7 separate regions of the Homo sapiens genome follow, and all the other regions are linked to region 5. The links are contacts of gene promoters, found by promoter capture Hi-C in human tissues and cell types (Jung and others, 2019). All regions are on one chromosome and are shown on one strand. Each heading gives the region's core, a stretch centred on a gene start or on the middle of the fragment in contact. The rest is flanking DNA. Distances are from core to core; before and after follow the strand shown.

The links. The method cuts DNA at HindIII sites, captures the fragments that hold promoters and counts their contacts. A contact is called where the count stands out against the background at its distance.
Region 1: a contact is called between the fragment with the promoter of CALR3 here and the fragment with the promoter of SIN3B in region 5, in 2 of the 25 tissues and cell types used here (IMR-90 fibroblasts and pancreas).
Region 2: a fragment that was not itself captured here is called in contact with the fragment with the promoter of SIN3B in region 5 in 1 of the 25 tissues and cell types used here (H1 embryonic stem cells).
Region 3: a contact is called between the fragment with the promoter of SLC35E1 here and the fragment with the promoter of SIN3B in region 5, in 1 of the 25 tissues and cell types used here (H1 embryonic stem cells).
Region 4: a contact is called between a fragment that was not itself captured here and the fragment with the promoter of SIN3B in region 5, in 2 of the 25 tissues and cell types used here (lymphoblastoid cells and spleen).
Region 6: a contact is called between the fragment with the promoter of BABAM1 here and the fragment with the promoter of SIN3B in region 5, in 2 of the 25 tissues and cell types used here (IMR-90 fibroblasts and heart left ventricle).
Region 7: a contact is called between the fragment with the promoter of CHERP here and the fragment with the promoter of SIN3B in region 5, in 1 of the 25 tissues and cell types used here (mesenchymal stem cells).

What each region holds. Positions count from the first base shown.
Region 1 is chr19:16,494,151-16,497,559 of GRCh38, reverse strand. CALR3 (calreticulin 3) reads left to right here and starts at 1,393. Exons shown (of 9, transcript NM_145046.5): 1 at 1,393-1,521; 2 at 1,708-1,809. The coding sequence starts at 1,431. C19orf44 (chromosome 19 open reading frame 44) reads right to left here and starts at 1,166. Exons shown (of 9, transcript NM_032207.4): 1 at 1,095-1,166. RefSeq lists enhancers at 1,064-1,493, 1,128-1,628, 1,629-2,129. The HindIII fragment of the contact is 12,389 bases long and covers 1-3,409 here.
Region 2 is chr19:17,178,327-17,181,756 of GRCh38, reverse strand. It overlaps MYO9B (myosin IXB), which reads right to left. Exons shown (of 40, transcript NM_004145.4): 15 at 717-830. Among named protein-coding and RNA genes, the nearest start is that of USE1, 35 kb to the left of the region's middle. RefSeq lists a silencer at 203-497 and enhancers at 1-591, 592-1,184. The HindIII fragment of the contact is 3,887 bases long and covers 226-3,430 here.
Region 3 is chr19:16,570,197-16,573,986 of GRCh38, reverse strand. It overlaps SLC35E1 (solute carrier family 35 member E1), which reads left to right and starts at 1,572. Exons shown (of 6, transcript NM_024881.5): 1 at 1,572-2,043; 2 at 2,405-2,475. The coding sequence starts at 1,623. LOC105372295 (a long non-coding RNA gene) reads right to left here and starts at 1,437. Exons shown (of 3, transcript XR_936360.3): 1 at 1,179-1,437. RefSeq lists enhancers at 1,266-1,355, 663-1,537 and silencers at 1,456-1,675, 1,806-1,915, 2,076-2,205. The HindIII fragment of the contact is 29,713 bases long and covers 173-3,790 here.
Region 4 is chr19:17,240,777-17,244,594 of GRCh38, reverse strand. The region is part of intron 1 of NR2F6 (nuclear receptor subfamily 2 group F member 6); the gene reads left to right. Among named protein-coding and RNA genes, the nearest start is that of NR2F6, 3.2 kb to the left of the region's middle. The HindIII fragment of the contact is 5,712 bases long and covers 1-3,818 here.
Region 5 is chr19:16,826,879-16,830,736 of GRCh38, reverse strand. SIN3B (SIN3 transcription regulator family member B) reads right to left here and starts at 1,339. Exons shown (of 19, transcript NM_001297595.2): 1 at 1,197-1,339; 2 at 840-946. The coding sequence starts at 1,316. RefSeq lists a silencer at 1,192-1,371 and an enhancer at 1,112-1,613. The HindIII fragment of the contact is 27,079 bases long and covers 1-3,858 here.
Region 6 is chr19:17,265,005-17,268,692 of GRCh38, reverse strand. It overlaps BABAM1 (BRISC and BRCA1 A complex member 1), which reads right to left and starts at 1,250. Exons shown (of 9, transcript NM_014173.4): 1 at 1,166-1,250. RefSeq lists enhancers at 762-1,473, 981-1,480, 1,741-2,200. The HindIII fragment of the contact is 20,462 bases long and covers 1-3,688 here.
Region 7 is chr19:16,540,287-16,543,864 of GRCh38, reverse strand. It overlaps CHERP (calcium homeostasis endoplasmic reticulum protein), which reads left to right and starts at 1,428. Exons shown (of 17, transcript NM_006387.6): 1 at 1,428-1,511; 2 at 1,822-1,995. The coding sequence starts at 1,487. RefSeq lists silencers at 1,527-1,716, 1,727-1,796. The HindIII fragment of the contact is 9,580 bases long and covers 1-3,578 here.

The sequences.
Region 1 (3,409 bases), core at 144-2,643, 330 kb after region 5:
GACACACATGGTAAAACCCCGTCTCTACTAACAATACAAAAATTAGCGGGGCGTGGTGTCATGCGCCTGTAATCCCAAATACTCAGGACGCTGAGACAGGAGAATTGCTTGAACCTGGGAGGCGGAGTTCGCAGTGAGCCGAGATCGCACCATTGCACTTCAGCCTAAGTAACAGAGCGAGAATCTGTCTCAAAAAAAAAAAAAAAAGGAAAGAAAAAAGAAAGTAGCCAGACACTAAACTCCACACACCCTATCATTTCATTTGTAAGAACTGTCAAGAAAAGGCAAACCAATAAACTCAGAAAGCAGATCGGGCCGGTGCTGTGACTCACGCCTATAATCCCAGCACTTTGGGAGGCCAAGGCTGGCAGATTACGTGAGGTCAGGAGTTCGAGACCAGCGTGGCAAACATGGTGAAACCCCATCTCTACTAAAAATACAAAAAATTAGCCGGAGTGCAGTGGCATGATCACAGCTCACAGCAGCCCTTGACCTCCTGGACACAAGCAATCCTCCCTCCTGCCTCAACATCCTGAGTAGCTGGGACTACAGGCGCGTGCCACTACACCTGGCTAATTTTTTATTTTTATCTTTTTTAGAGATGGGGTCTCGCCAGGTTGCCCAGGCTGGTCTGGATCTCCTGGCCTCAAGTGATCCTCCCGCCTCTGCCTCCCAAAGTGCTGGGATTCCAGGCGTGAATCACCGCGCCCGGCCTGACGCAAAGTTCTAAAGCTGGATGAGCTGGATGGTGGCGACGGCTTCACAACTTTGTAGATTTACTAAAAATAACGGAGTCGTCAGCTTAAAAGTGGCGAACACTATGGTATGTAAATGAAGGCTCAATAAAGTTGTTACAAATCAACAAACCAAAACTTGAAAACCCTGGCGCCCCTGAGACCATCCTGCTCTTCTCCCCAGCTATGAAGCGACCCGCGCAGGACCATGCTCCAATAGACCCCAGACAGGGAAACTGAGGCGCGGGACCATCCTGCAGCGGCCCAACCAGCTCAGCCCCGGAGAAGGCCCCATTTCCCCGTATCCCCCTCGCGAGCCCGGACGCCCAGCTAGGTCACCTCCCCACCAGCCCTGCCGACCTCTTCCCACGCCGTCCATTCGCAGAGGCAGCCGCCACATTCACGCCTGAAGGAGCGGTTGCCCTGGGCAACAGAGCCAGAGCAGAAGAGACTACATCTCCCGGGAAGCACCGCGCCCCGCAGACCAATGGCGCCCCGAATCACAATCGCGGGGTGTCATGGGAGCGGTAGTTCCGGGGCGGGCCCAACGTGCCCCGCGCCGCAGCGACCAATGGGACCCTCAGGTCATAATCGCGAGTTGTGACGGGAGTTGTAGTTTCGGGACGCGCCTGAAGAGCCGCAGAGAGAGCTGGGAGCTAAGGGGTGGCGGCGACCGGAAGCGCAGTGCACACCCCCATGGCCCGGGCTTTGGTCCAGCTCTGGGCCATATGCATGCTGCGAGTGGCGCTGGCTACCGTCTATTTCCAAGAGGAATTTCTAGACGGAGGTGAAGGGGCCACGCCCGTGGTGGCGGAGGTGTAAGCTCCCCCATCTCCGCCCCCTAAGGCTGGCCAGAGTCGCCACGGGGTCCACGGCAGCGAACCCTCGAATCCTCGAGGGTCCCCTTCACCCTTCCCTTAGCCCAAATTAACCATTATCACCTCTAACCGGTGTTATTTCCCCTTCCCCACAGAGCATTGGAGAAACCGATGGTTGCAGTCCACCAATGACTCCCGATTTGGGCATTTTAGACTTTCGTCGGGCAAGTTTTATGGTCATAAAGAGAAAGATAAAGGTTAGTGTAGAATCAGGACCAAATTGAGCCTAATGTTACATTTCCATAGCAACCTCTCTAGGTAGTTGTGGCACAGCCAAAACGCTTTTATTCCCGTTTTACAGATGAAGACATTAAGGCAAAGGTAGAACTTAAGGGGCTCCTTTCCTTGTTTTTTTGTTTCTTCTCTCCTTTTTTTTTTTTTTTTTTTTTGAGACGGAGCCTTGCTCTGTTGCCCAGGCTGGAGTGCAGTGGCGCGATTTCGGCTCACTGCAACTTCCACCTCCCGGGTTCAAGCAATTCTCCTGCCTCAGCCTCCCGAGTAGCTGAGACTACAGGCGCGCGCCACCATGACCGGCTAATTTTTGTACTTTTAGTAGAGACAGGGTCCACGTTGGCCAGGCTGGTCTCGAACTCCTGACCTCATGATCCACCCACCTTGGCCTCCCAAAGTGCTGGGATTACAGGCATGAGCCACAACATCCAGCCTCCTCTCTCCTTTCTTTATTGCCAAAGATTCCTTTTTTTTTTTTTTTTTTTTTTTGGTAGTAGGAGTCTCGCTCTGTCGCCTAGGCTAGAGTGCAGTGGCACGATCTTGGCTCACTCAAACCTCCGTCTCCCGGGTTCAAGTGATTCTCTTGCTTCAGGCTTCTGAGGAGCTGCGATTACAAGCGTGCGCCACCATGCCCTGCTAATTTTTTTAGAGACAGAGTTTCACCACATTGCCCAGGCTGGACTCAAACTCCTGGCCTTAAGTAATCCACCTGCCTCGGCCTCCTAAAGTGCTGGGATTATAGGCGTGAGCCATGGTGCTTGGCCTATTATCATTATTATTACTTTTATTGGTATTAGGTCCCCTGAAGTCCAAGGAGACATATTCAGCTTATTTGGTATAATAAAATCATACTTGAAGCACTGTCAAATATGCAATGGTATTTAACCTTCTTTGGATTATATTTATATGAATGTGTTATTAGTAGGCATTACCAAAATTGCCCCTCTTAATAGACACTAGTCAAGTGCATTTGAGGATCAAGGGCCATGCCCCTCAGAAGGAAAAGGTTAGTGGGTACTTTTTCTCATTTTAATTTTCGTATTAAAAAGAAAAATAGGCCAGGCGCGGTGGCTCATGCCTGTAATCCCAGCACTTTGGGAGGCCTTAGGCGAGCGGATCATGAGGTCAGGAGTTCAAAACCAGTCTGGCCAATACGGTGACACCCTGTCTCTACTAAAAATACAAAAATTAGCTGGGTGTGGTGGCTCATGCCTGTAGTCCCAGCTACTCGGGAGGCTGAGGCAGAAGAATCACTTGAACCCGGGAGGCAGAGGTTGCAGTGAGCAGAGATCATGCCCCTGCACTCCAGCCTCAGTGACAGAGTGAGACTCCATCTCAAAAAAAAAGAAAAATATGGTCAGGCACGGTGGCTCACGCCTGTAATCCCAGCATGTTGGGAGGCCAAGGCAGGCGGATTACTTGAAGTCAGGAGTTTGAGACCAGCCTGGTCACCATGGTGAAACCCTGTCTCCACAAAAATACAAAAAAGTTAGCCAAGTGTGGTGGCGCACAACTATAATCCCAGCTAATTGGGAGGCTGAGGCAGAAGAATCGTTTGTACCCAGG
Region 2 (3,430 bases), core at 920-3,419, 350 kb before region 5:
AAAGAAAGAAAGAAAGAAAGAAACTGGCTCTCATTGGCTCCCATGCAGGTGCAAGCTTTGCTCTCAGCCAGCCCACACCCCAATGGCCACTAAAAGGCGAGATGTGGTGACCGCAGGTGGATGTCTTGTCAGCTGAGGCTGCTGCCTGCCTGGTGCTGGGTCAGCATAATGGAAGCATGAGAGTCATTACCCCATTTGCAGGCTGAAAGCAGAGACTACTCAATCCCACAGTGTGCTAACAGTCGGGATCCCAAACCGGTTTATGCACCTTCTGGGCTCTCCTGACTGGCTTATGTGGCCACCTGCAGAGATCAGGGCCACCCTCTCTGGGAAATCGCATGCCCTGCTGCAGATGGCTTCTCTGCAAACTCACAGTGGCAAAGGCGGGAGCAAGCTTTGCTCTGCAAGCCAGATAGGCACGGGGAGGAGACGGAGGATGGCACGTTTGCGGGTGGAAAATTAGATGCCTCGAAGAAGGAGTGCTCCTGGGAAGCTGCCCCGTGTGCTGGGAAGCCGGCTGTGCCTGGGCCACAGTGCAGACAGAGGCCAGGGGTGTTATTGATTGGCATTTAGTGATGGCTGGGGGTGGGCCATGAGACAGCACTGTGGTTTTAGTGGCCGATGCAAATTAGGAAGACTGCAGGCCCCGCCGGGGTCGCAGGAGTAGTGGGAGGCGGTTGTCGCACTTGTAAGCAGGGCCTTGGTGGGGGACTCACAGGATGAAGGCGCGGGGTTTCTGGAGCCGACTGAGGGACTGGAGAAGGCTACGGGGGTCCTCGCCCTGCCAGGGCAATCCTTTGATGCTCTTGATCATTTGGTTATGCAAATCGCTGAGGGGAGGGGTGGAGGGGGCGCAGTGACAGAAAGAAGATGGAGTTAGAAGCAGGCCTGCCACCTCGGGGTTCCCAGCGCCATTGGGACCATCCCCAGGCCACTGAAGCCAAAACATGCAGCTGGGGGAAAGACACTGTGCTCAATGCTGCCCCTCTCTCTTTTGCCAGAAATGGGGACTGGGCCAGCCTCCCCAAGCCCTGGAGCGGGGCAGGGCTTTGAGGCAAATTGGACTTGGCAACACAGATCATTGATCCTTTTCAATACATCATTTCCAGCTGGGTGCGGTGGCTCACACCTGTAATCCCAGCACTTTGAGAGGCCGAGGCGGGTGGATCACCTGAGGTCAGGAGTTCGAGACCAGCCTGGCCAACATGGCGAAACTCATCTCTGCTAAAAATACAAAAAGTTAGCTGGGCATGGTGGAGGGCACCTGTAATCCCAGCTACGTGGGAGGCTGAGGCAGAATTGCTTGAACCCGGGAGGCAGAGGTTGCAGTGAGCTGAGATAGTGCCATCCATTGCACTCCAGCCTGGGAGACAGAGCGAGACTCTGTCTCAAAAAAAAAAAAAAAAAAAAAAAAATTATTTCCATCTGGTCATTCCACTTTATTCGATCCTTTTCATTTGGATCACTGAAAAAGTTCTCATATTTAAGAGCCTTTGGGGATATTTATTTATTTATTTATTTATTGAGACGGAGTCTCACTCTGTCGCCCAGGCTGGAGTACAATGGCGCAATCTCAGCTCACTGCAACCTCTGCCTCCTGGGTTCAAGCAATTCTCCTGCCTCAGCCTCCTAAATAGCTAGGATTACAGGCGTGCACCACCATGCCCGGCTAATTTTTGTATTTTTAGTAGAGATGGGGTTTCATCATGTTGGTCAGGGAGGTCTTGAACTCCTGACCTTGTGATCGGCCCACCTCAGCCTTCCAAAGTGCTGGGATTACAGGTGTGAGCCACCGCGCCTGGCTGGGGATATTTATTTAGTTTTAAATTTATTTTTATTTTTATTTTATTTTTTTTTGGAAACAGTGTCTTGCTCTGTTGCCCAGGCTGGAGTGCAGTGGTGCGATCTCAGCTCACTGCAACCTCCACTTTCCAGGTTCAAGCGATTCTCCTGCCTCAGCCTCCTGAGTAGCTGGGATTACAGACATGCATCACCCTGCTCAGCCTATTTATTTTTTAAATTCCATGACAGGCTGGGCGCGGTGGCTCATGCCTGTAATCCCAGCACTTTCGGAGGCTGAGCAGGGCAGATCACCTGAGGTAGGGAGTTCAAGACCAGCCTGGCCAACATGGTGAAACCCCGTCTCTACTAAACACACAAAAATTAGCTGGGCATGGTGGCGCATGCCTGTAGTCCCAGTCACTCCGGAGGCTGAGGCACGACAATCGCTTGAACCTGGGAGGCAGAGGTTGTAGTGAGCCGAGATCGCACCACTGCACTCCAGCCTGGGCAACAGAGTGAGACTCTGTCTAAAAAAAAAAAAAAAAAAAAAAAAATCAGTTGGGGCGACTCAGAAAAAAGACCCTAGGGAGGGTCTCTGTGGGAGGAGCAAATTAGTCTCTCTCCATGATTTTGTGGCCAGATGTCAATCTCCTTGTTGGCTTCATTAAGGCCTTTGGAGGAATTAATTTGAATACAAGAGCCACAGTTTGAACACAGCAGTTCTCAACCGGGGCGGTACCATCCCCATCAGGGGACATCTGCCAATGTCTGCAGACATTTGTGGTTGCCATGACTTGGGGGTGGGGGTGCTCTCCTGGCATCTGGTGGGTGGAGGCCAGGGATGCTGCTCAACACCCTACAGTCTACAGGACGGGTGCCCACCCCAGAGAATGATCTGGCACAGTGCTGAGGTTGAGAAACCCTAGTTTTTTTTTTTTTTTTTTTTTACAGAGTCTTGCTCTGTTGCCCAGGCTGGAGTGCAGTGGTGTGATCTCGGCTCACTGCAAACCCCGCCTCCCAGGTTCAAGTGATTCTCCTGCCTCAGCCTCCCCAGTAGCTAGGATTACAGGTGCACACCACGCCTGGCTAATTTTTGTATTTTTAGTAGACACAGGGTTTCACCATGTTGGCCAGGCTGGTCTTGAATTCCCATCCTCAAGTGACCTGCCCACGTATGCCTCCCCCAAGTGCTGGGATTACAGGGGTGAGCCACTGCGCCCGGCCAGAGAAACCCTAGTTTAAGGGGATAATTACCCTCAAAGCACTCAACCTTACTCGCTTCATTTTGTTTGATGGCTGTGGGCTTAGGCTTGAGCACGCACGCGGAGGTGCAAACTTTGGCACTGATACCGTGTGTGAATTAGAATGCCTTAGAGATGAAAACTGGATGCTTTCAAACTAAATATTAGTGAGGAATGTCTAAATGACAAATGTTTTTGACAGAACTCAGAACTTCTAGAAATGAGGATCTGGTTTTTCCTGCTTTTTTTTTTTTTTTGAATTCCTTATTCCAGACATTTTATTTATTTTTTCTTGTAGGCGTGTGGTCTTGCTATGTTGCCCAGGCTGGTTTCAAACTCCTGGCCTCAAGTGATCCTCCGGCTTTGGCCTCCCAAAGCGCTGGGATTGCAGGTGCGTGCTACCGCAT
Region 3 (3,790 bases), core at 323-2,822, 260 kb after region 5:
GTGCCTATAGTTATACTTTCCTAATTTCACTGTGCCTATGTTTAACAGCTCTGCTGAGACATGGTGTCCCAAGGATGTGACTTTACTCTGATCCACAGAGGGTACAGCTGGAGGATATTAGGGTGCAGAGCTTGGCCTCCTATCAGCATCTCTAGAGTTTTGGGATAGGTTGCAGCTCCCCACTACCCCTGCCTGCAGGGACTACCATGCCTGTGTCCATGTATCCAGAAGGGCCTAGGGCCTTTGAGAATGCAAGGATAAGCTAAGATACCTTCCAACATTTGGGGAGCCAAGTTGGGTTGCTGCTTTCTACTTTTCTTTGAGACTGGGTCTCGCTCTGTCACCCAGGCTGCAGTGCAGTGGCGCCATCATAGCTCACTGGAACCTTGACCTGGGCTCAAGCCGATCCACCCACCTCAGTCTCCCTAGTAGTGGGTACCACAGGCGTGCGCCACCACGCCTGGCTAATTTTTGTATTTTTTGCAAAGATGAGGTTCTGCCATGTTATCGATGCCACGATCTCCAACTCCTGAGCTCAAGCAATCCGCCCACCTTGGCCTCCCAAAGTGCTGGGATTCCAAGCTTGACTCACTGCACCCAGCCGGTTGCTGCTTCTAATTTGACAAGTAAAAACACTGTAACGGAATTTTAACACCCTTTCCCCGAAAAAGTTGGAGGCACACGATGTGGAGAACAAATTATAGCCCTTGAATTAGTATAAGATCATCTTACTGAAAACCTCGTCCTGTTTTCCTCCACTGGGGCCTCCTGGGGCTGGTCCATCCCGGCTGGTCCTTGGACATCAGCCGTCAGGGCCCGGCACCTCCCCCTTCTGCAGAGCCTTGGAGACAGGTGTCCAAGGACGCTACCATGACCACGGTCCCCAGTGTGGCCAGGAAGCCTAAGACAAGTCGCTTCCCCATTCTGGACTTCGGTCTGTGAAATGCGGACAGTGATACCTACCGCACCGCGTTCCTAGGATTCAGTGGGATGATACCAGGGCCACGCCCGAGAACTGCGCACGTCGCGGTGGTTTCCAGAACATGATTCCAGGGATCGGGTGCTCCGGGATAGTCCCACTGCCAGAGTTTGGCCACGAGCGTGCGCCCCCAGTTTGCAGAGCGAGTTTAGCCCAAGAGCTTTTCACAAATGGTTTCTTTCCCTAAAAGGCCTTTTACCTTTGGTGTCAGCCGCCGCCAGCCATCAGGAATCAGGAATCTAGTTAGCGGTTGCCCTTGTATCCCTGGTCGAGGCCCTGATGTTTGGCCCACGCACAGACGCCGACGCTGCGAAGCCCTCCGCGCTTCTGTTCGCCCGTCCCGTTCGAGCTCCGGCTCCCGGTCACTGGGACCGCCCACGTCTCAGGTGGCACAGCTTGGACGCAGGTCTGTGTCCCCTTCTTCCGCTTCCGGCCTCGGCTCCGCCGGAAGCGCATCTACAGTGGACTGGGCCTGCACTCGAGACGTGGTGGCTGGCGCGTCGGCCGGCGCGGAGGGATGACGCGAGGAGGCAGCGACCAATGGGAAACGGCGTAGACCGGGGCGCCTGCCCCCCCGCCCAGCCCCGCCCCCGCCCGGCGTCGGGCCGTCGGACGGGCTGGAAGGGGCGGCCGCTCGGGCAGGATGGCGGCGGCCGCGGTGGGCGCGGGCCACGGCGCGGGGGGCCCGGGCGCAGCGAGCAGCAGTGGTGGGGCGCGCGAGGGCGCGCGGGTGGCGGCGCTGTGCCTGCTGTGGTACGCGCTGAGCGCGGGCGGCAACGTGGTCAACAAGGTGATCCTGAGCGCCTTCCCGTTCCCGGTGACCGTGTCGCTGTGCCACATCCTGGCTCTGTGCGCTGGGCTCCCGCCGCTGCTGCGCGCCTGGCGCGTGCCCCCCGCGCCGCCCGTCTCGGGCCCCGGACCCAGTCCGCATCCGTCGTCCGGCCCGCTGCTGCCGCCGCGCTTCTACCCGCGCTACGTGCTACCGCTCGCCTTCGGCAAGTACTTCGCGTCCGTGTCAGCGCACGTCAGCATCTGGAAGGTGCCCGTGTCCTATGCACACACCGGTAGGTTCCGCGCCCGGCCTCGGGGGCGGCGGCCGGGCCCGCCGCTTCGGGTTTGGGCGCATGGATAGGAGTGCGCCGCCCGGGGCGCGTCCCGCCGGACTGAGAAGTCAGCAGAGGGGCTGCCAAGGGTTTGGTAGGGGAGGGACACGCACGGGGTTCTCAGGGAGAAGAGGAGCTGAGAAGAGAGCTGAGAGGTAAGCAGGACAGACCACAACAGCCGTGGCAGGAGGAAGCCCTACCGAAAGAGAAGGGGCGAAGAGGTGTGAGGGGCTGCCAGGCCCTCCCATCCCGCCGTGGAGGTGGAACAGGTTGGGCCCTGAAATTCAGGCAGCCCCCTGAGTGCCCATCCCTCTCTTTGCAGTCAAGGCCACCATGCCCATCTGGGTGGTCCTCCTGTCCCGGATCATTATGAAGGAGAAGCAGAGCACCAAGGTAACCCCGGGCAGGGACTCTGGGCAGATGGGAGCTCCAGGGGGTTCCTCCCTGTTGCCAACTGGTGACGTGGTCAGGATCCTGGTCTGCAGGCTGCCTGGCTTCCCGTCAAATAGGGAAGTCAGTGTAGAGGTCTCCAGTGGCCTTTTACTACTCAAGTTCTAGAATCACCCTGTGAGCAGTGGTGTGTGGAGTATGTGTCCCTCTGTGATCTCTGCTGTGTGGTCTTAGGAACACTGTTGTCCCTTTCAGATCCAATTTTCCTCCCCGTTTTGATTCCCTACCTGGGTTTGCTGGTAGGTGATGGGTTGGTCACATCTTGGCCATACACCCCATGTGTGGCCTTTCCAGTGGGACTAGGGATGGATGGATCAGAACGCTGTCGGTTAGGTGTTCACTTTTTTTTTTTTTTTTTTGAGACGGAGTTTTACTCTTGCCCAGCCTGAAGTCCAGTGACACAATCTCAGCTCACTGCAACCTCCGCCTCCCAGGTTCAAGCAGTTCTCCTGCCTCAGCCTCTCAAGTAGTTGGGACTACAGACGTGCACTACCACACCTGGCTAATTTTTTTGTATTTTTAATAGAGACAGGGTTTCACCATGTTGCCAGGCTGGTCTCAAACTCCTGACCTCAAGTGATCCGTCCGCCTCAGCCTCCCAAAGTGCTGGTATTACAGGCGTCAGCCACTGCACTTGGCTAGGTTTTCACTTCTTGACAAGAGATTTCTGTCAGGGGACCTCTGGGATCAGAAGCCAGACGCGATCCAAGGAGTTCGATCTTGGCAAAATCCAGCAAAGTCTTAGAAATTAAAACAGCCAGAAGTTGTGATGGTCTGGGAACGGAAGCGAAAGTGGCACACAGGACTCAGGGCTGCATAAGGAGGATGCTTTGGGCACAGTCCAAATTCTGTTCAAGATGCCAAGCCAGGGTATTTCCTGGCTTGGGGCAAGAATAGCCATGGCTTTAGCCGGAGACAGCTTTATCCCGTATTCTTAAGTGGAAGTTGGGCGCTTGTTGTCTCAGCCGGAATCCATTTCATGCTGATGCTGGACACCGTGCCTCTTTTCCAAGTGGTTGGTTTCTGGCATGTTGTATTTTATGTAACTCAGAGAGGTAGTGCCCTGGATCGGCTTATAGAAATTGGGCCACCTATGGCTGATTTTTTTTTATTCCTGCCTGTCTTTGTCTCAGCAAGACCTGTGTGTGCTCTGTAGCCCTGCTCCCCCAGGGTGATGTCAGGCTGTGACTTGGCTCCTGAGAAGTCAGAGTTGTCCCTGAGGTGTGTAGCTGCATCACCGGATATCATCGTGTGTATC
Region 4 (3,818 bases), core at 417-2,916, 410 kb before region 5:
CTCGGGGATCCCGGCGCGCGGGATGCCCTCGAGGGAATCGAACGTGGAACTTGGACCGTGGAGCTCGCAGCGTCCAGGGGCCATTGTCTGCGGCCGCGCGGATCGATACGGCGCGCCCTTGGGGTCAAATATCACTTCCAAAGTCGCTGTGGCTACGGAGGCGGCAGACGGAGGGAGGCTGGGGTGGCACGGGGCGGCCTTCTTCGCATGAGGGGCCCAGCGGTGGGGGTGGGGGTGGGAGCTGGGCTTGCCCATCTCAGGGAACCCCTCTGGGCTCACTCTGGGCCTTGGGTCACCGGAAATCGCCACTGGAAGGCCGGCAGGGCCACCGGAATTGACTGAAACGTCCCTCTCCCCCAGGGGTGGGTGCAGACCTGGGGCTCCTGGAAAAATCCCTCAAACTTTGGGTGTCTCTGAGACGGGCAGGGAGTGAAACGTTTCCGAGCAGGAGCCTTGGGCTGTCCCAGGTCGGAGACCTCTCTGGCAGGGCGTGGCCTTGCTAGCTGTTCTGGCGGAAGGTCCCCAGGGAAAGCGATCGGGGTTGTCCAGCCCGGGAGTTCTTTTCTCACCGTTCCCGGGCGAGCATCCGATCTGTCCGTTTATAAGCCCCTACTCTGCACCCCAGGAACATGCAGGGTCTCTGTGGAGCCCGTCTAGACGGTCTCAGTTCCCAGCTGCCCAAAACAGAGGCCCAAAGGCCCAGAGAGAGGTCCTGGTGCCTGCTTTGCGTTGGACATGGAGGGACGCTGCCCGAGTTGGGGGCACTGTGGGGGAACTGTGGGGCTAGGGTGGGGACCGCTGAGTTCGGATCGGAGTGGCCCCAGGGAGAACGGCTGATGGAAGGCTTGTTGGCTGAGGCCACCAAATAGGGCCCCAGGTACCCGAGGGTGGAGTTTGGCCCCAGGTCCCGGGTCAGGGCTGGCCTGGTGTGGCCATGTGTGGCAGAGCTGCCTTGCTCCCTCCTCCAGCACAAAGTGGGCCACTAGACTTTGGCCTCATTCTTGCTGCTGGAAAACCGCCTGCTCTCTGGTCATATCTTTAGGGAGGGTAAGGGAGGGGGGCTCAGGCAGTTTTGGGGTCCCAGGAGCTTCCTGAGGGTGGTGTCAGGGAGCAGCAATTTTGGGTGGGGGGGGCCTTGCTTGGAGCTGACAGGTTTGTGCTGTGTCAGTTGTGTGACCTGGTGAAATCACCATTCCATTCTGAGCTTCAAATGGATTGAGCAGGGTCTCGCTGGGGCCCAGCCTGGGTAGTTTGATGCCAGCCCCTCCAGAGAGACCCCAGCTCCAAGTCTAGCTCCTGAGAAGCCCCCAGTCTGGAGGAGACACAGTGAGACAGATGCCCCAAGTCTGTGGGATCTGGGGTCCCAGGGAGAGAGCAGAGGCTCTGCCTGGAGGTCAGAGAGGGCTGCCTGGAGGAGGCTAGGGGACATGAGCCTTGAAGCATGGAGTTGGCAGGTGGAAGAAAGGCCACAGGGACATGCCAGAATGTGGTCCAGACAAAACACTTAGTGGCAGACTGGGGGAGCTGTGCTGTAAGAGGGGGACTGTGCAGCCATGGGAGAAGTCAGAGCTAGGTGGGCCTGAAATGCTGGCTGAGGGTAATGGGGAGCCATAGAGGGTGTGTGAGCAGGAGAGGGCTCTGATCAAATTGGACTGGAGGCCAGAAGCCCAGGGAGGAAGCTGAGTTGGGCCATGGGGTTGGGCAAAAAAGCTTGCACTCTTTAGGTGGGATAACAGGAAGAACTTAACTGTTTCCCTCCTTGGAGGGATGGATCTGTCCCAATTCCACAGCTGGGGAAGTTGAGACTGAAGGTTCAGGGCCTCCCCTGAGGTCAGGGGCCCCTGAGCTGGGCCTCTGCCTGCCTGCAGGGCCGCCCCAGGCCAGGCCGTTTCCACCCGGCTGCCCTGGACCCTCCCACCACCCAGCCGCTGGGCTTTGTTCTGGTTCTGCCTGAGCTCCCTCTGCCCTAGTGGGGCCTCTTCCCAGGGGCTCAGTGGCTGGTGCTGCAGGACCCAGGCAGTGGTGGAGGGGGGGTACGGGGGAGTGGGCGCAGATCCTCAGCTTTCCTAAGTTGGGTTCTCCGGCTGGGCTCTGGGTCTTGGCACTGTCCCCCGTGAACCCCTCTGACCCAGTCCATCCCATATGATAGGGCAATATCTGACCTCCCATTTTCAGATGAGGAAACCGAGGCTCAGTGGGGCAGTCGCCACCTGAGGGGCAGGGCTGGGTATCTGCAGCTGAGATTCATCTGTTTTGTTTTGTTTTGTTTTGTTTTTGAGACGGAGTTTCACTCTTGTTGCCCAGGCTGGAGTGCGATGGCGTGATCTCAACTCACTGCAACCTCTGCCTCCCGGGTTCAAGCGGTTCTCCTGCCTCAGCCTCCCAAATAGCTGGGATTACAGGCATGCGCCACCATGCCCGGCTAATTTTGTATTTTTAGTAGAGACAGGTTTTCTCTATGTTGTTCAGGCTGGTCTCAAACTCCCAACCTCAGGTGATCCGCCCGCCTCGGCCTCCCAAAGTGCTGGGATTACAGGCATGAGCCACTGCACCCAGCCTTTTTTTTTTTCTTTTTTTTTGAGACAGAGTCTCACTCTGTCACCCTGGCTGGAATGCAGTGGGTCAATCTTGGCTCACTGCAACCTCCACCTCCCCAGTTCAAGCGATTCTCCTTCCTCAGCCTGCCAAGTAGCTGGGATTACAGGCATGCGCCACCACGCCCAGCTCATTTTTGTATTTTTAGTAGAGACGGGGTTTCACCATGTTGGCCAGGCTGGTCTTGAACTGACCTCAGGTGATCCACCCTCCCCCGCCTCCCAAAGTGCTGGGATTACAGGCGTGAGCCACTGCAGAGATGCATCTGTTTAATTCCCTTAAGTGGTGGTTCTACTCTGTGACTGTCTCTGTGTGTCCCCTGGGTGTCCAGCTGGAACCCCAGGGGTAGTTGCTCCAGGCCCAGGCCTTGGAGAGCCCCCAGCTCCTGGTGGCAAGAGACCAGGGGAGTCCAAGGGCAGGGGCCAAGGGGAGAAGGTTCTGGGGACATTTGAAGAATAAGGCCTGGACCTTCCTGCTTGGGGGCTGACCCAGGATGGGGAGCTCACCACCTCTCAGGGTGGGGCCACCTGTCTCATCCCTGCAAGAGGCAACGGCATTCACTGAGGGCTGACCAGGAAAATCTCCAGCTTGCATAGGGGTTGGGTGGTCCTCTCGGAAGAGCGTAGGTGTGGGGCCTTCAGGGCTGAGGACCAGAGTGACTTTGTTTACTTCCTCATTCCTTGGGGTGGGCATTGTGCGGGTGATAATGCTGGGGCCCCACAATGCTATGACCCCACAGACCACTAGCCCCTGGCCTGACCCCTAGTTAATTCACAAAGTCCAGCTCTCTGACCATGTCCTCTTTGCCTTCACATCTTTTTGGGGACAATGACCCTGCTCAGCCTGACAGTGACCAAATAAAATGAAACTCTTTAGGCCTCCATATTTGTGTATTTCAACCCTTTTGCTCTGGCTGTACCCTCTCTCTGGGATCACCCCGCCATTCACCTGGAGAACTCCTATTCATCCTTCAAAACCCATGCCAATGTGCCCTCCCTGGGGTGTTCATCTGCTTTTCCACAGATTCCTCTTCATCCATCACCACTCATCCGGGTTATCCTGTCTGGTTTGCAGACCTGCAAGCTGAGCTCCTGTACCCCTTTGGGGCTACCTCTCCAGTCTAGAGGGCCCCTACTAGTATTTCTGAGGGGCAGCCTCCAAAGGCGGCTCATAGGCTGGTTCGGGGAGGAGGATATGGGGGTCTCAGGGAGCCCTGGCTTCTG
Region 5 (3,858 bases), core at 90-2,589:
GGTGTAAGAAAAATAGGAGGGGAGAGATGGGGTCTCCCTTCTGGCTGCATTGCAGCCCAGCCCTTAGCACTGGGCTCCCGGAAGGAAACCAGGCCAGCCCCACCATGTTTCCTAAGAGGGGGCAGCAGTATGGTAAGCATGTGACTTCCAAGAATCTGAGTCAGAGGGTCTGAGTTCTAGTGACACCTCTGCCACTTAGGTGGGTCCCTTACCCACTCCAAACCTCAGTGAGTCTCCTATAAAAACAAGGGCATGATCCCAGGGTTTCCCATCTATCTGTAATCTTCCTTGATTCTGGGCCTGCAAAATCATCTCATGTGTTTTAAACGTTTTCTGTGTGCCAGCTCCCTTACTAAGCATTTTATGCGTCTTACTTCCAAGCAGGCCTGGGACCACAGTGAGCCCAGAGAAGCATCTTGAGGACAAGATTAAAGGGGAAGAGGGTGCCAAAAATTTCAATCATCAAGACAATAACATTTTACAGCGCTTGAAAATAAAAATCAAAATGGGTCCCACCAAATCTTTCATGAACAAAACTAATATAAAAATCAACATATTAAATCAAGGCAGGATTTGACTCTATGAGTGTGCACGGCCTCGCCCTCCCTGCCTCCCCCCAGATCCCTGTCCTGCTTCCAGGAATCCCCACAAAGCTCCACAAGGTGGGTACTACCCATTTCCATTTTTGTTACGAGAAGGAGCTAGGGCTCTGAGAGATTGGACAACCTGCGCAAGGTCACCCGGCTAAGGGGGCAGGCTGGAGAGGGGAGGTCTCACCCCGCTAGGCCCGATTCCGGCCCAGGGGGGTCCCCTGAGGTGGAGAGGGGCCCCGCTGGTACCTCTGGCTTTTGAACTCCTTCATGATCTCCAGGAAGCCGTTGTAGGTGGCAGGGTCGCTGCCAAAGCGGATCTTCACCTGGTCCAGATAGGTGAGGGCGTCTTCTACCTGCAGAGAGGGGGAGGGTCCCGGTGGGCCCTGGCCGCGGAACGAGGGGACGAGGGGCCGGGGTCCCTGAGGGGAAGGGGATGGGCTGGGCTTTCGGAGGGCCGAGGTGAGAGGTGAGGGGTGAGGGGTCCGGGGCAGTGCAGAGGGGAGGCCGAGGTGGGGCTGGGGCCGGGCGGGGCCTGGGTGAGGGGCGCCCGCCCGCGGGGTCCAGAAGATGGGTTCCCCGAGGGAGGGCGGGGACGCCACTCACGTGCACCGGCAGCTTCTCGTGGCCTGCGGAGCCCGAGCGACCCCAGCGGGCGCCGCTCAGCCCCCGGCCCGCGGGGCCGCCGGCACCGCTGCCACCGCTGCCACCGCCAGCGTGCGCCATGTCCGAAGTCGGAGCTGCGCCCCGCCCCGCCCCCGCCCGAGGTCCTGCCGCGCATGCGCAGCCTCCGCCTTTGGAGGCGGGGTTTGATGACGTTGAGGGGCGGTGCTCTTTGAGGGACTCTTCTGAAGACCTTCTCCTTAAGATTGGTATCATAATTAATGATTTATATAGCAGGGGTAGGCGAGCCAAGACCCGCCGCCTACTTTGTCCGGCCCCGCAAGCTCAGAATTATTTTTACATGTTTACATAGCCGGGGGAAAAATCCAAAGAAGAATAGTCTATGACCTGTGAAAAGTTTGTGAAATTCACATTTGAGGGTCCCTGAATAAAGTTTTATTAGCACACAGACACGCCCACGCGTTTACCTGGCTTCTCTGCCTGCTTTCGCCTTACAACAGAGTAGGTAGTTGCTAAAGATCCTACAGATCTGCAGACCCTGAAGTATTTACGATCTGGCCTTTTATGGAAAAAGTTTGTTGGCCCCTGCTTTATAGAGTTGACGGGACGATGAGGTATGAGCCCCCAGCGCCCTAATATAGGGCCTTGCGTGGTGAATTTTTGCTAAATGGCCTTTAAGTTAGTCCTACTCCTCCCATCTTCACTTCCCTATCCTTGGCCCCGTCACTTCCCATCTGGACCAGTTTAGGAGCCTCCTAACTCTGGTACTTTCTTTTTTTTTTTTTTTTTTTTTTTTTTTTTTTGAGACAGAGTCTCGCTCTGTCGCCCAGGCTGGAGTGCAGTGGCGCGATTTCCGCTCACTGCAAGCTCCGCCTCCCGAGTTCACACCATTCTCCTGCCTCAGCCTCCTGAGTAGCTGGGACTACAGGCGCCCGCCACTGCGCCCTGCTAATTTTTTGTACTTTTAGTGCCACCCCACCTGGCTCTAACTCTGGTACTTTCTCAGCCCTGATACTATCAAGAACTCTAGGCTGGGGATGGTGGCTCACGCCTGTAATCCCAGCACTTTGGGAGGCCGAGGCGGACGGATCACGAGGTCAGGAGATAGAGACCATCCTGGCTAACACGGTGCAACCCCGTCTCTACTAAAAATACAAAAAATTAGCCGGGCCTTGAAAAAAAGAAAAAGAAAATGAAAAAATTGGCTGGGCGCCGTGGCTCACGCCTGTAATCCCAGCACTTTGGGACGCCGAGGCGGGCAGATCACCTGAGGTCTGGAGTTGGAGATTAGCCTGACCAACATGGAGAAACCCCGTCTCTACTAAAAATACAAAATTAGCCGGGCTTTGTGGCGCATGCCTGTAATCCCAGCTACTCGGGAGGCTGAGGCAAGAGAATTGCTTGAACCCGGGAGGCGGAGGTTGCAGTGAGCCAAGATCACGCCATTGCACTCCAGCCTGGGCAACAAGAGCAAAAACTCTGTCTCAAAAAATTAATTAATTAATTAATTAAATAATAAAATAAAATGAAAAAATTAGCTGGGCGTGGTGGTGCACACGTTTAGTCCCAGCTACTCGGGAGGCTGAGGCAGGATTGCTCATGCCCAAGAGTTCAAGGCTGCAGTGAGCCATGATCTTGCCACTGCACACCCCAGCCTGGGAAGCATAGCAGTGCTTTTTTTTTTTTTTTTTTTTAAAGAGCATCTCATCTCTTAAAAAAAAAAAAACAGAAAAACAAAAAACTCCACTTTTTCCACCACTCCTTCCAAACCTCCAAGGTCTTCCTATTTCTAATGAGATGAAATCTAAGCACCTACATTGCAGGCTGTCAGAATTGGTCCTTAGGAACCTTTTCCTGCAGGATTTTCCAAGCAAACTGCCTGCCTCTGTGCAGAACTTCACACAATTGCCTGACCAACCTGGCTGCTTCCTGGTCCCAAGCATTGGCACTCACCATTTCCTTTGCCAGAAGTACTGTCATGCCTCTTTGTTATTCAGAAAACACCTATACATCCTTCTAAACGCAGCCCAAATATCCCTTTCCCTCAGGAAGTGTTCCCAGTCCCCTTCTATGTCTCCCCTCAGTCCCTTGTATTTCATATTTGTTTTGTGTCCGTCTCTAATACAAATCCCTGACACAGTCTCTCAGTCAGCATTCATCAAATAAGTGAACGTTCAATTAATGACCAAGTGCTTTCTCTTTTTATAAGTGAAGAGGTGCAGGAAAGTTGAGAGTAAATTGGCATCGAGTGCATCATTTACCAGGCACCTTGCTAAGTGTCAGGAATAGAATGGTAAAAAGGAACGCAAATTTGGCCGTTAAGAGCTTTTAGTCTCTCAGGATAGACAGGAATCTAGTAATCACACAAATGTAAAGTTTCACATGTAACAAATACTTTAAAGAGAAGGTATACATGTAACAGTTCCTAAATTTCTGTTGCTATGACTGTGTAACAAATGAGCCCTTGACAATCCCAGCACTTTGGGAGGCCAAGGTGGGGGCATGCATTGAGGCCAGGAGTTTGAGACCAGCCCAGGCAACATAGCAAGATCCCATCTGTACAAAAACATTAAAAAGAAAGAAAAATGGAGAGAAAAAATAAAAACATTGTAAGGTCTGGGCTTTCTGTAAAAGAAAATAAAAA
Region 6 (3,688 bases), core at 1-2,500, 440 kb before region 5:
CTTTGGGAGGCCGAGGCAGGTGGATCACCTGAGGTTGGAAGTTCGAGACCAGCCTGACCAACATGGAGAAACCCCGTCTCAACTAAAAATACAAAATTAGCCGGGCGTGGTGGCGCATGCGGATAATCCCAGCTACTCGGGAGGCTGAGGCAGGAGAATCGCTTGAACCCGGGAGGGGAGGCTGCGGTGAGCCGAGATCCCGCCACTGCACTCCATCCTGGGCAAAAAGAGCGAAACTCCGTCTCAAAAAAAAAAAAAAAAAAAAGATTGGTTACTAAGAAGGAAGAGGGGCGATGAGCCGCTTACTGATGATGAGTCACTCCTCTTAGGGAGTCACTTTCCTCAGCTGCAGAATGGCTGCCTTTTACACCTCTCAGCCGAGCAGCCACTCCGACATAAGATAACAGTCCCCCCTCTTTTTTCCTCTTTTTTTTTTTAACGTAGTGCTAGCCCCATGCCCCTACTCGGCCAGTGAGCACATCCCAGCTCTCTGGCCACTGAAAATGGCTCAGGGATGGGCACATGACCCAAATCAGGCCATTGAGTGGCAGCTCTGCAACTTCTAGCAGTGTCATCAAGGAAAAGAGACTCTCATTAGAGTTGCAGAGCTGGTAGAATAAAGTTGAGAGCTGTGAGGGGCCCCTTTTGCCTCGGTAAAAAGCGAAATGGTCTCCACCGAGAAAACTGCAGATCGAATTCTGACCACCTGGACCCAGCTCCTGTTAGACCCAATCTATAAGCCACCAACTTCCTTTTCTTCCTTAAGCCAGATTGAGTAGGGTTTTCTGTTACCTAAAACTGAAAATGTCTTGGTGAATAAGGGAATAATAACCTCTAGGACACCCTCGTCCCTAGCGGGTGTCTGCATGAGGGAGAAGCAAAATATTAGTACTGTGGTTCCCCTTGGAGAGAAACAGGACGCGAATGGAGCAGTTTGTCTATCTGGGAAATAGGCACGGGCTTCCCAAGATGGTCTTTGAGCGCCTTGCAGTCCCCACACCTCTAAGAAAAACAAGGCTTTAGCGGCAGCAAGAAGGATGGAGGCTACACTGCAGGAGAAACCAGAAATAAAGGCGGAAGCCCCAGGAAAGGCGAGGAGCTGGATCTCTTGGGGCAAAGGGAGCTGGGCCCCTAGGAACGGGCCCCACACGCTTTCACCACCCACCTTCGGCTCACCGTAGCCTGAACCTCCTTCTAAATCAGCCGCCGACTCACTAGGAAGCCGCCATCTTTACAGCCGGAAGTTGTACGGCGCAGCCCCGACGCCTCCTGGGAAATGTAGTTCAGCGGGCTGCAGAACAAGCAGAGACAGAAACTGGTTGAGGCTAGAAAGAACTTGGAAACTGATAGGCTGAAACTGGGTTGGGGGTGGGGTTTGGAGTGAGAGCTGCCTGGAGCTGGGTGCGGCGGGACCTGGAATGTGATTGGCTACACTGGAGCAAAGTATGAAATGTGATTGGATTAAAAAAATTAGTGAATTTTTGTTTTTGGCCGAATCAGACTACAATAGTCAGTGCTTCTACCGTGATAGGCTGAAACGTGGAATAGAGGTGGAGCTTGCAATGTGATAGGCTAAGAGGGACGGAGAAGGCCGATTTAGGGAAAGAGGAGGAGCTGATTGGTGATTGGTGGAGCTGGCCTGAGCCTCCATGTGGGGCAGGTATTCCCATGTGGGTGTGGCCTGAGCATCCAGGGCCCTTCCCAATTACTTAATTCTTGTTCCTTATTTTACATATATTTGCATGAATCAAAAAATACTTACTCTGGTCTTATTGGGTCACTGTAGGTGGAGCGAAGCTAAGTCGGGCCTATTTCAAGCCTACCTCTTTTTTCATGGCTTTTTTTTTTCTTATTTTTAGAGACAGGGTATCGCTCTGTCGCCCAAACTAGACTGCAGTCACGCGATCATGGCTAGTCACTACAGCCAAGCGATCGCTCAAGTAGCTGGGACTACAGGCGAGGACCACCGCATCAGACTACCCTAGGCTTCCTTCCTTTTTTTTTTATTTTTATTTTTTAGATGGAGTCTCACTCTGTCGCCCAGGCTGCCGTTGTCTTCTTAGTGCACACTTCCCCCTTAGCCCCAGAAGTATTTATTTATTTATTTTTATTTTTTTGAGACAAGAGTCTTGCTCTGTCGCCCAGGCTGGAGTGCAGTGGCTCAATCTCGGCTCACTGCAACCTCCACCTCCAGGGATCGAGCAATTCTCCTGCCTCAGCCTCCCAAGTAGCTGGGATTACAGGCATGCACCACCAGGCCCGGCTGAGATATATATAGTATTTTTAGTAGAGCTGGGTTTTTGTTGTGTTTTTTTTTTTCGTTTTTGTTTTTGTTTTTTTGAGATGGAGTCTCGCTGTGTCACCTAGAGCGGCTCTTTGAAGGCTCTAAGCCTTTGCCCAGGAAGTTCCTTCTGCCTGGAATGCTGTTCCTCCTGTTGCTTTTCTGGCAAGTTCTTTATGCTTCAAAGCTCACCTTACACAGCCCCTCCGGCTATTCTCGAATTAGAGCCTGGCCAATGTGGCCGGCTTCTTTGACCCTCAAAAAAAAAAAAACAACTGAGGAGTTGGGGGCAGTGGCTCACACCTATAATCCCAGCATTTTGGGAGGCTGAGGTGGGTGGATCACGAGGTCAGGAGTTAGAGATCAGCCTGGCCAATATGGTGAAACCCCGTCTCTACTAAAAATACAAAAAATTAGCTGGGTGTGGTGGCGCGCACCTATAATCACAGCTACTCAGAAGGCTGAGGCAGAAGAATTGCTTGAACCCAGGAGGTGGAGGTTGCAGTGAGCCGAGATCGCACCACTGCACTCCAGCCTGCGTGGCAGAACAAGATTCCATCTAATAAAATAAAATAAATAAATAAACTGAGGCTTCAAGTGGCTCTTAAATGTTTCTGGGGCTGGTGGGGTCGGTGGCTCATGCCTGTAATCCCAACACTTTGGGAGGCTGAGGTGAGTGGATCACCTGAGGTCAGGAGTTTAAGACCAGCCTCGCCAACATGGGAAAAACCCATCCCTAGCCGGGTGCGGTGGCTCACGCCTGTAATCCCAGCACTTTGGGAGGCCGAGGCTGGCAGATCACTTGAGGTCAGGAGTTCGAGACCAGCCTGGTCAGCATGGTGAAACCCTGTCTCTACTAAAAATACAAAAATTAGCTGGGCATTGTGGTGGGCACTTGTAATCCCAGCTACTCGGGAGGCTGAGGCAGGAGAATTTCTTGAACCCAGGAGGTGGAGGTTGCAATGAGCCAAGGTTGCGCCACTGCACTCTAGCCTAGGCGACAGAGCAAGACTCCATCTCAAAAAAAAGAGAACTGTCAGCCCACAATGAAGAGACAGGCAGAGAAGAAAAGTTCACAGGGGAGCCAAATAAAAACCATCAGCTCACGGGAACATTCTAGCTCTTTTTTTTTCTTTCTTTTTGAGACAGGGTCTTGCCTTATTACCCAGAATGGAGTGCAGTGACGTGACCACGGCTCACTGCAGCCTCAACTTCCAGGTGTTAAGCAATCCTCCCACCTCAGCCTCCTGAGTAGCTGGGACTACAAGCGTACGCCACTACTCCTGGCTAATTTTTATATTTTTTGTAAAGACGGGGGTCTCGCCATGTTGCCCAGGCTTGTCTTAAACTCTTGGACTCAAGCGATCTGTCTTCCTCAGCTTCCCAGAGTGCTGGGATTACAGGTGT
Region 7 (3,578 bases), core at 179-2,678, 290 kb after region 5:
GCCGGGCGTGGTGGTGCGCACCTGTAGTCCCAGCTCCCCTGGAGGCTGAGGCAGGAGAATTGCTTGAGCACGGGAGGCAGAGGTTGCAGTGAACCGAGATCACACCACTGCACTCCAGCTTGGGCGAGAGAGAGCAAGACTGTGTCTCAAAAAAAAAAAAAAACCAAACAATTAAGATCCTCGATCTTCATGAGAAAATATGAACTAGAGGACATTTAGAAAAAAAAAAATCCTTGATCTTGCCTCCTGACCTGCAGAGTCTAAAATATTTGCTTTCTGTCCCTTTTATACAAAAAGTTTTGTTGATTCCTAGCCTACAGCAACACTTGATGTAGAGTTGTCAATCCATAAGCATCTGGTGGAAAAATGCTGTTAACAATAAAAATGAAACTAATCTAAAATACATGTGCATTTATTTGCACAGAAAAAAACAGGCTGGGTAAAGTAGCTCATGCCTATAATCCTAGCACTTTGGGAGGCCGAGGCGGGAGGATTACTTGAGCACAGGAGTTCAGGGCTAGTGAGCTATGATCATGACACTGCACTCCAGCGTGGGCCACAGAGCAAGACCTTGTCTCAAGAAAAAAGAAAAAAAAAAACGGATAAAGGAAAAAAAAGCGGCGGGGGCGGGGGGCAGGTATAGCCAACTAAGCATTAACCATCTCAAGAGGATCAGTTTATATCGGACGTCCACAGCAGAAATTTGCTGCTTCTGGCTATCTTTTCCCCACAATTAGCAAGGGTTAGCTTCATTATTTTAGAGGCAACCCAACTGCAGCTTTTAGAAAGGCGCTGTGCCCTCTAGGCCAGCAATTTGAGGGCATGGGTTGGGGGGTACCCCGCCCCAGTCTTCCTGACCAAAGAGTGGAGCGGAAGAAAGCCAGGAGGAGGATGTTTTGAACCTAAATACGTCCAGCTGCAATCCCAGTCAAGCTCGTCGCCCCCAGTTCTGCTCCACCTCCGGTCTGGCCGGGGAGAATGTGACAGTCGCCGCAGCCCGGGATCCACCCGGACGCACCTCACCTCGCAGTCTCCTCACTGTGCCCGCGAAAGGAAAGAGACCCTGGCCCAGGCACGAAGTCCCCAGGCCCCTGGTCGCCCGGAGGTAGCAACCAGCCAGCCCATCGGGCTGCGACGCCGACCAAGGGGCACGCCCCGCGCCCCCCGGTCTCGACTAACACCCACCCGCGCCGTTCCAGCCTTTCCGCGGCGCCGCGCGACGGGGACCCACTCTGCGAAAGTGTCAGGAAACTTCTGCGCGTGCGCGTCGCTAGCCCCTCCCGCGCGCCAGGCATCGCGCGGCTTCTTCCCGCCTGCCTCCCGCTCTCACTTCCGGAGTTTCCCAGCGACGGCCGTAAGTGGCGGGCGGAAGCGGCCCTAGAAGCCCGCCGTAAACGGCTCCCTCGCGCCACTTCCGGCCGGCTTCCGCAGACGGCGCTGGTGGTCGATCGTGTGGCGCCGGAGGACGTTCCCCGCGGCCGGAGCCATGGAGATGCCGCTGCCCCCCGATGGTGAGACCCAAACCGGCCGAGAGACCGTTTCTCTCTCCCCGGAACCTCCTATTGGCCGGCCCCGCCTCCCGGAGTCCCCGGGTCTGGGAGGGGGCGGGGCTCGGCCTCGCGGCTTCGCCTGCGGCCTCTCCCGTGGGTCCCCGCATTCCCGGCGAGCGTGTGGCCCCTATCGGGACCCGTACAAGGGCGGCCTCTTCGGGGCCCACCCCCTTGGGGTCCCCGGCAAGGCGGACGGGGGCTGGGGCGCCGAGTCCCCCGGCTTTGGGCGGTCCTCGCTGACGCCCCGCGTGGCCTTTTCTCCGTCCTCCAGACCAGGAGCTTCGAAATGTCATCGACAAGCTCGCCCAGTTCGTGGCTCGCAATGGGCCCGAGTTTGAGAAGATGACTATGGAGAAGCAGAAGGACAACCCCAAATTCTCGTTTCTTTTCGGAGGCGAATTCTACAGTTACTACAAGTGCAAGCTGGCGCTGGAGCAGCAGCAGCGTGAGTCCCCTCCGGCACTCAGGCCGTCCCATCGAGCGCTTCCTTTCTCGGATTCCAGTCCGGGCTCTGCCACAAACCTCTTTCTTTCGGGTCGTTTATTCTTTGAAGTGGAGCAGCTCGGTCCACACGATCCCTGTTCCGCTGTTCCCACGGCCCTGCACAGAGCGGCTGCTGGGTGCCACTGTAATGGAGAACAACGAGGTTTTCGATCCTCCCCCCTGGGCTCTGGATCAGGGATTTTGCTGTTGTTTTGCAGACTGATGACGGAGATTAGCAGGAGTAGCGTGATTGTTTTAGTGTTTTCTAGGGAGGAAGTGATAGAGGCCGGATGGGAGTCCATGGGACAGGCACTGTCCAGCCCCCTTTGCCGTCTCCCTGTGGGTCCAGCAAGGTTTTGTGCATTTCAGATGCCTGCAGCAGAAATCAAAAAGAATTATCCCTCTGAGTTTTAGTTATTGGCAAGTGTTTATCAATGTTCGTTCATTTAGGCAACAGGATTCCAGTCCTGCTCTAAAGAAGTTTAAAGTTAGGAAGCAGAGCTGGCCTTTGAATAATGGATAGTCACCAGGTGGTGCGGCTGCTCAGGGCAGGTATCACATCTGTCACGTTCAGTACCCAACCCCGTCTCTAGATTGTTTAAATGAATAACTAGGAGTTTGCCAGGTAGATGGACATTGAGAGGTGGTTGTCCGCTGTTTGATCGAACGCCAATTGTGTGTTATGTATTAAGGTACAATGACCCAAACAAGGTCTGTTTGGCTTCGGCGAGCGTGTAGTTCAGGGGACTACACGCTCGTCTTGTATTAAGGTACAAGGTCATTGTCCCTTAATACATAACACACAGTTGGTGTTCGATTAAACAGCTTGAAAGGAGGCCTGTTGCAGTGGCTCATACTGTAATCACAGCACTTTGGGAGTCCAAGGCGGGCAGATCACTTGAGGTTAGGAGTCTGAGACCAGCCTGGCCAACATAGTGAAACCCTGTTTCTACGAAAAATACAAAAATTAGCCGGGTGTGGTGGCCCGCGCCTGTAGTCCCAGCTACTTGGGAGGCTGAGGCGGGAGAATCGCTTGAACCCGGGAGGTGGAGGTTGCGGTAAGCCAAGACCACGCCATTGCACTGCAGTCTGAGTGACAGAGTAAGACTCCATCTCAAAAAAAAAAAAGAAAGAAAGAAAAAGAAAAGGCTTGAAAGGAGGCCAGGCGTAGTGGCTGACGCCTGTAATCCCAGCACTTTGGGAGGCTGAAGCGGGCAGATCACTTGAGGTTAGGAGTCTGAGAACAGCCTGGCTAACATAGTGAAACCCTATCTCTACTAAAATTACAAAACTTAGTCAGGTGTGGTGGCACACACCTGTAGTCCCAGCTACTGGAGAGGCTGAGGCAGAAGAATCGCTTGAACCTGGGAGCTGGAGGTTGCATTGAGCCGAGACCACACCATTGCGCTCCAGCCTGGGTGACAGAATGAGACTCCATCTAAAAAAAAAAAGCAGCTTGAAAGGAGGCCAGGCCCAGTGGCTTGTGCCTGTAATCCCAGCACTTTAGGAGGCTGAGTCAGGCGGATCACTTGAGGTCAGGAGTTC